Regions from separate parts of the Homo sapiens genome. Here regions 1 and 2 are each linked to region 3. The links are contacts of gene promoters, found by promoter capture Hi-C in blood cells and fetal thymus (Javierre and others, 2016). All regions are on one chromosome and are shown on one strand. Each heading gives the region's core, a stretch centred on a gene start or on the middle of the fragment in contact. The rest is flanking DNA. Distances are from core to core; before and after follow the strand shown. Region 1 holds the start of ABCF3 (ATP binding cassette subfamily F member 3). Region 2 has its middle 21 kb from the start of VWA5B2. Region 3 holds the start of PARL (presenilin associated rhomboid like).

The links. The method cuts DNA at HindIII sites, captures the fragments that hold promoters and counts their contacts. A CHiCAGO score of 5 or more calls a contact.
Region 1: a contact is called between the fragment with the promoter of ABCF3 here and the fragment with the promoter of PARL in region 3, in 17 of 17 cell types (total B cells, M1 macrophages, naive CD8 T cells and 14 more). The highest score is 25.3, in total B cells.
Region 2: a contact is called between a fragment that was not itself captured here and the fragment with the promoter of PARL in region 3, in 1 of 17 cell types (M2 macrophages). The highest score is 5.4, in M2 macrophages.

Annotation. Positions count from the first base shown.
Region 1 is chr3:184,184,878-184,187,577 of GRCh38, forward strand. It overlaps ABCF3 (ATP binding cassette subfamily F member 3), which reads left to right and starts at 1,322. Exons shown (of 21, transcript NM_018358.3): 1 at 1,322-1,403; 2 at 1,630-1,777; 3 at 1,919-1,998; 4 at 2,520-2,566. The coding sequence starts at 1,331. RefSeq lists enhancers at 115-829, 1,307-1,626. The HindIII fragment of the contact is 6,180 bases long and covers 1-2,700 here.
Region 2 is chr3:184,207,713-184,210,412 of GRCh38, forward strand. No RefSeq gene overlaps it. Among named protein-coding and RNA genes, the nearest start is that of VWA5B2, 21 kb to the right of the region's middle. The HindIII fragment of the contact is 5,192 bases long and covers 1-2,700 here.
Region 3 is chr3:183,883,438-183,886,157 of GRCh38, forward strand. It overlaps PARL (presenilin associated rhomboid like), which reads right to left and starts at 1,443. Exons shown (of 10, transcript NM_018622.7): 1 at 1,285-1,443. The coding sequence starts at 1,409. RefSeq lists silencers at 1,203-1,362, 1,473-1,623 and enhancers at 1,573-1,622, 1,663-1,892. The HindIII fragment of the contact is 9,960 bases long and covers 1-2,720 here.

The DNA.
Region 1 (2,700 bases), core at 72-2,571, 300 kb after region 3:
CAGCCTGGGCAACAAGAGCGAAACTCCTTCTCAAATTAAAAAAAAAAAAAAAAAGAATATAATGAATCTCCATGTCTCATCACCCAGCTTCAACTATGATCAATGCGTGGCCAGTTCCTTAATATCACATCCAGTTTGTGTTCACTTAACCAGGTGTCTTATCAAATTTTTCCAGATAAGGTCCATTGTGGTTGGTTAATGCTCCTCAAATTTTAAAAATTGATGTTTCCCTTCAGGTCTTGCAATTTTGTGGAAGAAACCAGAGTTCTGTAGTTTACCACATCAGAATTTGCCTGTTGTCCCCATGAAGTCACTTAACATATTCCTCTTTACCTGTATTTCCTGTAAAATGGTTCAATATCGGGATTGATGCCTCATGATGGCAATGTTTAATCCAAAGGGATGAATGGGTAATAATGTAATTTTCGGTGCCACTTTTAGAGACCAATTGGAGGAATATTCACGTTAAATATAAAGCAGTAGCATCATTTTGGAGGAAATTCCTAACTTCCCGAGGGAATCGGTGAAAGGAAATAGCCTTTTATTGGCATTTATTGAGTGCAGAGAAGTCTGCTCAGGGTGTAGGTAGGGAATAATTTATACAGGCCACGTTGTCCTGGTTTTCTTGCCCTTTGGCGGTGGATTTGGTCGTGCCCTGGGGTGGTGGAAGAACTGAATGGGCTTAATTCACAAAGGTCGGCTGAATTACACAGTGAAAAGGCGGTCGCGGCGGGGAGGCGGGTGGCGCTGGCCACCAGGCTGAGAAGCCCGTAGGGTCTGGGGACCCGCGAAAGCAAAGCACTGAGCAGGGGGCTTCTGAGAGTCAGGGACCGGGGTGAGTCAGCAAAGCTCTGGGCAGGCTCCAAAATGGGCCTGACTGGGTACGCACCAGCAGCAGACGCGCCTCGAGGGAGCGCATAAAACCTGGCAAAGCCAAAGTGCTTTATCAGCCGCCTGCCTCTTGGGAGGCTCCCACCCGCCAGACCACGGGTGCCTCGCGGCCCCGATAAACCTTGAGCTCCCAGCCTTTGCCCCACCCCTCGCTCCCGGAACTCCACCTCCCAGAAGGCAGCGAGAACCGCACATGTGGCTAATCTTTCAGCGGAAAAGGTGTCGCGCACGCGCAGAGAGCGCGGCTCCGGCGCAGACTCGGCGCCTCTCCTCAAGGCCCCGCTCGCCCCGCCCACCGGGCTCTGCGCACTCCGCTCCTTTCCTGCGTCACCGCTACACATGCGCCTTGCAAGGAAGGGCGAGATTTCGGGGGCAGGGCGGGGGGCGGGCCTAGGCCGGGGTCTCACAGCGACTGCGCGGACGGGTTCCTGAGTGGAACATGGCGACTTGCGCCGAAATCCTGCGGAGCGAGTTCCCCGAAATTGACGGACAAGTCTTCGACTACGTGACCGGTAAGCAGAACTGAATCGGCCGGCTGGGGAGACCGAAGTGGAGGCCGGGGGAAAGTCTAAGCGAGCGTCGTGCCCGGGACTGTTGCCAGGCCTCTCCTCTGCATGACCTCTTGTCCCGGGGGCTGGTTGGGTCTGGAGCCTGGACTGGGGCCTCTGTCTGGGGTCTGAAACTGCTTGTGTGTCCACCCTACCCGATACCTTCCTCGTTCTACCACGCCCTGCCCAGGCGTCTTGCACAGCGGCAGCGCGGACTTCGAGTCTGTGGATGACCTGGTGGAAGCTGTAGGGGAACTATTGCAAGAGGTGTCCGGGGACAGCAAGGATGACGCGGGCATCAGGGCCGTGTGCCAGCGCATGTACAACACTCTGCGTCTGTATGTGCCAGGGAGTAGGGGTTGATGGGGGCGAAGGGACGGCGAACGGTCCGGAGACAAGAGGTGGGGGAGGAAGATCTGATGGCCATAGAGCTTTTCCCTCAACTCCTAACTCTGCGCTTTCTATCCCTACCCACATAGGGCTGAGCCACAAAGCCAGGGAAATAGCCAGGTGCTACTGGACGCCCCTATCCAGTTGTCAAAGATAACGGAGAACTACGGTGAGAGTGAGGGGAGGTTGAACTAACTGCCCCCCTGTGCTTTTCTCCGCCCCCAACCATCTGCTGCCTGCAGCTTAGGGCTCCTACGTCTTTTCCACAGGACAAGGTTGTAGGAGCTAGTTGATGTCTTTACCGAGGGCAGAAGAGCCCATGATGGGGGTGGGGAGGAGGTTGGAGGGTTCTCCCTCCAAGCTCTTGGGTAGGATAGGAAGCATAAGAGCCTGGAGCTGGACAGACTTGCTTTCACCCCCAGTTTTGCAACTTGCTAACCAGCTGCATGATCTTGTAAGAGTTGGTTATCTGTCCCCAGCCTTGTCTATGCCTCTGTATCCTTCTACGTGAGTTTTGTTTTGTTTTGTTTTGTTTTGTTTTTAGTGCAGGGAAGATAATAGCCATCTATCTGCAGTATTATAAGGTTTTGTAGAAAACATCTGTGTCTGTGCCTGGTTCCTATTAGTCACTCAAAATGTTAGTTTCCCTTCCCTCAGGGAGAAGGTGACTGCTTTTCTTATCGCTTACAGACTGTGGAACCAAACTTCCAGGACTGCTAAAGAGGGAACAGTCCTCGGTGAGGAGGAGGAAGCAAGGGAGGGGACTGTCTGTGATGGGGTTGGGAGTTGACTGTCTAATTGGAGTATCTTTTGGGGGGATTTCTGACTATGTCTTTTCCTGAGCCTTTGAGTCTGTTCATCATGGGTAAGT
Region 2 (2,700 bases), core at 160-2,659, 320 kb after region 3:
AAGCCTGAGACAGAAATTACAGGATGAGTCTAGGACTCTTATACTAGAAAGCAAAGAAGCACTGAAACAATGATGGAGACATCTAAAAAGGATACAGGGCTGGCACAGTGGCTCTTGCCTATAATCCCAGCACCTTGGGAGGCGAAGGTGGGCAGATCTCTTGAGCCCAAGAGTTTGAGACCCCTGTCTCTGCAAAAAATACAAAAATTAGCTGGTGGGCTGGGTGCAGTGGCTCACGCCTGTAATCCCAGCACTTTGGGAGGCTGAGGCAGGTGAATCACCTGAGGTCGGGAGTTCGAGACCAGGCTGAACAACATGAAGAAACCCCGTCTCTACTAAAAACACAAAATTAGCCAGGCATGGTGGTGCATGCCTGTAATCCCAGCTACTCAGGAGGCTGAGGCGGGAGAATAGCTTGAACCTGGGAGGCGGAGGTTGCAGTGAGCCAAGATCGCACCATTGCACTCCAGCCTGGGGAACAAGAGTGAAACTGTCACCAAAAAAAAAAAAAAAAAAAAAAAAAAAAAAATAGCTGCTGTGGTGGTGTGCACCTATAGTCCTGGCTACTCAGGAGACTGAGGTAGGAGGATCAATTGAGCCTGGGAGCTCGAGGCAGCAATGAGCTCTGATTGGGCCACCGCACTCCCTGTCTCAAAAAAAAAAAAAAAGAAAAGAAAAGAAAAGAAAAAAAGACAAAAAAGTCAGCTCGAGGTGCTCCCACTTCAAATTAGGGACTGTTTGAGCATCAGCATAAATAATGATAAGTCTGAGGGTAGTGGCTCATGCCTATAATCCCTGCACTTTGGGAGGACGAGGTGGGCGGATCACTTGAAGTCAGGAGTTTGAGACCAGCCTGGCCGACATGGTGAAACCCCGTCTCTACTAAAAATACAAAAATTAGCCAGGCGTGGTGGTGTGCACCAGTAGTCCCAGCTACTTGAGTGGCTAAGGCAGGAGAACTATTTGACCCTGGGAGGCGGAGTTTGCAGTGAGCCAAGATGGGGCCACTGCACTCCAGCCCAGGCAACAGAGTGAAGCTCTGTCTCAAAAAAAAAAAAAAAAAAAAAAAAAATATATATATATATATATGTATGTATATATATATGTATGTGTATATATATGTATGTATATATATGTGTGTATATATGTATGTGTATATATATGTGTGTATATATATACATATATGTGTATATATGTATGTATATATACAATATATGTATATATGTAAGTATATATACATATATATGTGTATATATGTATATATACGTATATATGTGTATATATGTATATATACACATATATGTATGTGTATATAATGATAGCAATGAATTATAACCCCTGAATAAAGTAGAAAACCACAGGTTCATACTGATATATATAAATACATTAATACAGTAAAAATTTAATGAGAAATGAGATACATATGTTGAACATATCTCCACCCCAAACATTAATTCACTATGGGGGCGGGGAAGAGTCACTTTGCAATGAAGGAGCCTGGCAGACACCGCTTTAATCAAGTAATCGAGTGAACATCATGAATAACGGGATAAATCAGCATCTTGTGCCACCCGATAGGAGGCAGTCAGAAGAACACAGCATTGCTTCTGTGATATTCTTGCCAAAGTTGCATAACCTGAATCTAAGCCCAAACTGAGGGACGGTCTACAAAATAAACATCCTGTACTCTTTCAAAATGTCAAGGTCAAGAAAAGACAGATAAATTGTTCTGGAGTGAAGAAGAGATTAAAGAAATATAACAAAATGTAGCATGTAATCTACACTGGCTTTTTTTGTTTTTTAAGAGACAGGGTCTCACTCTGTTGCCCTGGCTGGAGTTCAGTCATGAAATTATAGCTCACTGCAGCCTCAAACTTTTGGGCTGAAGCAATCCTCCCAGCTCAGCCTCCCAAATAGCTAGGGCTACTGGCACTCACCACTGTGCTGGGCTAATTTTATTTTTGTAGGCATGGTGGGAGGTCATGGTTTGCTGTGCAGGCTGGTCGTGAACTTCTGGCTTCAAGCGATCCTCCCACTTTGGCCTCAGAGCGCTGGGATTACAGGCGAGAGATACAATGCCCAGCCAGGAATTTTTTTTTTTTTTTAAGACAGAGTCTCACTCTGTCACCCAGGCTGAAGTGCAATCGTGAGATCTCAGCTCATTGCAACCTCCACCTCCCAGGTTCAAGCACCACCATGCTCAGCTAATTTTTGCATTTTTAGTAGAGACAGGGTTTCACCATGTTGGCCAGGCTGGTCTTGAACTCCTGACCTCAGGTGATCCGCCAGCCTCCGCCTCTCAAAGTGTAAAGTGTTGGGATTATAGGAGTGTAATCCCAGGCCCAGCCAATTTGTTTTGTTTTGTTTTGTTTTGTTTTGTTTTTTAGTCTCGCTCTGTCGTCAGGCTGAAGTGGAGTGGTGCGATCTCAGCTCACTGCAACCTCCGACTCCCAGGCTCAAGTGATTCTCCTGCCTCAGCCTCCCAAGTAGCTGGGACTACAGGCACCCGCCACCATGCCCAGCTAATTTTTGTATTTTTAGTAGAGATGGGGTTTCATCATGTTGGCCAGGATGGTCTCAATCTCTTGACCTCGTGATCTGCCCACCTCGGCCTCCCAAAGTACTGGAATTACAGGCATGAGCCACTGCGCCCAGCCAATTTTTTTAAATTTAATTTATTGAGACACTAAACAAAACTGG
Region 3 (2,720 bases), core at 193-2,692:
TCTTGTATTTTTAGTAGAGACGGGGTTTTGCAATGTTGGCCAGGCTGGTCTTGAACTCCTAACTTCAGGTGATCCACCTGCCTCAGCCTCCCAAAGTGCTAGGATTACAGGCGTGTGAGCCACCACGCCCGGCCAGTATTAATCTTTTCTTTCCCCCTTAAACCATGCAATCTCAAATGGGATTACCACCTCCATCTGTCCTCATTTTCCACCTCCCCAGGAGTTTAAGATTAGTGCCTGACAGATCTATGTTAGTGTATGAAGATACAATGTATGTAAAGTTTTCACAAGTCCCTGATAAAATTCACCTGGAATGCTTGTCGGACATATAGGTTCTTCCACTCCACCCACCCCTCTCCTGATTGTGATTTGGGAGGACTGGGGTGAGGCCTGGGACATAAAATCCATACAAACTCTTCAGGTGATCCTTGAGATTAGGCAATGGCTCCGCCACATTAGAGCCTCGATTATTTACCACTGACTATCCCACGTGTTGATAAACAATGTTTCTTATCAGCAATCAGGTGGATTCGAGGCACCCATCTAACCAAGTCAGAAATTGGAAGGAATGAAGTTTTGAACAAAAGAGGAGGAAAATTTTCAAAGCCAAATGCACATCAGATTCTTAAACAGGTGAGGAATTTCTCTCTTCTCTCTCAAATTAGAAATGAATTACTGTGATGCAAAAATCAGCAATACTGATCAACCATACGCTTCACACTTCTACTCGGAAGGTTCGGCAGTTTTCTTTCCAAATCAACCGGAAACGAAATCTTCCACTGTCTCAATTCAACAATAAAGCCTCTCCTACGACTTTGCCAGACACAAAGTGATACCTTCCATCAGACTTCGTCCTCCCTTAGATCACAAGCTAAAGAAGGCGACTGGTTGTAATGGAACACAACCTTTATAATTAGATGGAAAAAGAATAAAAACCGCCATTCTGCCAGCTGTACTAACTTCTTCACTTCAGAAACTGGCTCAACAGTTTCCACTCGCGATTATGAAGTGTGGCACGCAATGAACCCTCAGCTTAGTTCCCCTTCCAGTCACGTCCTTCCCAATGGGAAAGGAGAAAGCGCAGGCTCGCGGGGGGCTGGGCTGGGCAAGGGGAGCGAGAAGCGAGGACTGGACGGAGGCGAGAGAGGAGAGAGAAGGGGCAGGTAAGGTGAAGGGGGTGAGCTGGGGCCAGCACAAGAGGCCCAGACGGCCTCCGCCCCCGAGGATACACGGCCAGAGCTCAGGGACCAAGAGGCGAGAAGACCAGAGCGCGGCGGCTATTACCTGCGTCCGAGGAGCTGCGGCGGGGTTAGGACCGCAGTGAGCTCCTCGCAGCTGCGGCCGCCCACCGACGCACCCCACGCCTGGCCGCAGCCCCAGCCTCTCTGCGCCCAGCCTCGCCACGCCATCTTCCCAACCTCTGCCCCACCATGGCCCGACCTTACCAACCCCAGCTGCGCAACTACTTCCGGGGCGAAGGCAACACCATAGAGCACGAGGAGCAGTCTAGAGCGCCCCCGCGCGGCTGAGCGGCAGCCGAACCAGCCACGGTGCCCGGACGACTGGCTGGCGCCCTTCTGTCCCACCGCTTCCCCTCCCACTGCTCAGCTGGCTCCGGGAGCGACCTGCGAGAGTGGCCCGGCCTCCCGGCATTTGCAGATGAGGAGGATGGGGCCAGAGCGAAGAGGGACAACTGTCATTTTTTCGAGTAACGGCACATACCAGGCGCTTTGCCTAAGATCGCATTTAATCGTCACAGCACTGCTAGAGGTAGATGTCATCACTGTTTCACTTTGCCTCTGGTCAGAGGGGATAGGACTTGCCCGGAGTTGCAGGGCTGGTCCCTAGAGGAACCAACGTGGCAAGCCAAGTTTTCTTAAATTACTACTTTTTTCTGCATCTCACCACTTCGTGTTATTCTGTATGCCTTTAACAAAGTCCAAGCCTATCGGGCGGGGTGGCTCACCCCTTTAATCCCAGCACTTTGGGAGGCCGAGGCCGGCGGATCACCTGAGGTCAGGAGTTCGATACCAGCCCGGCCAACATGGTGAAACCCCGTCTCTACTAAAAATACAAAAATTAGCCGGGCATGGTGGCAGGGGCCTGTAATCCCAGCTACTCAGTTGGCTGAGGCAGGAGTATTGCTTGAACCTGGGAGGCGGAGGTTGCAGTGAGCCGAGATTGGACCACTGCACTCCAGCCTAGGTGACAGAGCGAGATCCGTCTCAAAAAAATTACAAATACAAATACAAAAATTAGCTGGGCGTGGTGGCGCAAACCTGTAATCCCAGCTACTCGAGAGGCTGAGGTGGGAGAATCACTTGAACTCGGGAGGTTGCAGTGAGCCGATATCGTGCCAGCCTGGGCAACAGAGTGAGACCCTTTCTCATAAATAAATAAGTAAATAAACACAAAATCCAAGCCTGAAATGAAAAGCGGGCTTTCACTTTTTCATAATCCATCCCTCAACTACCTGTCAGTTAGCTTGATTCCCTGCCATTCCATTCCCCCCGACCCTAGCTGCAGCCATACAGTCATTGGCCATTACTCAAAGGCACCATCCGCGTTCCCACTGCTGAGCATTCATGCTACCGTTCTCACCACTTGAAACATCTAACCGACTTGTCCTTCAGGTCAGCCTCAAGTGTCACCTCTTCCAGGAGGCCTTTCCCAGACCTCCACTCCAATTTAGATTCCCTTCCTTTGTACTCACATACCGC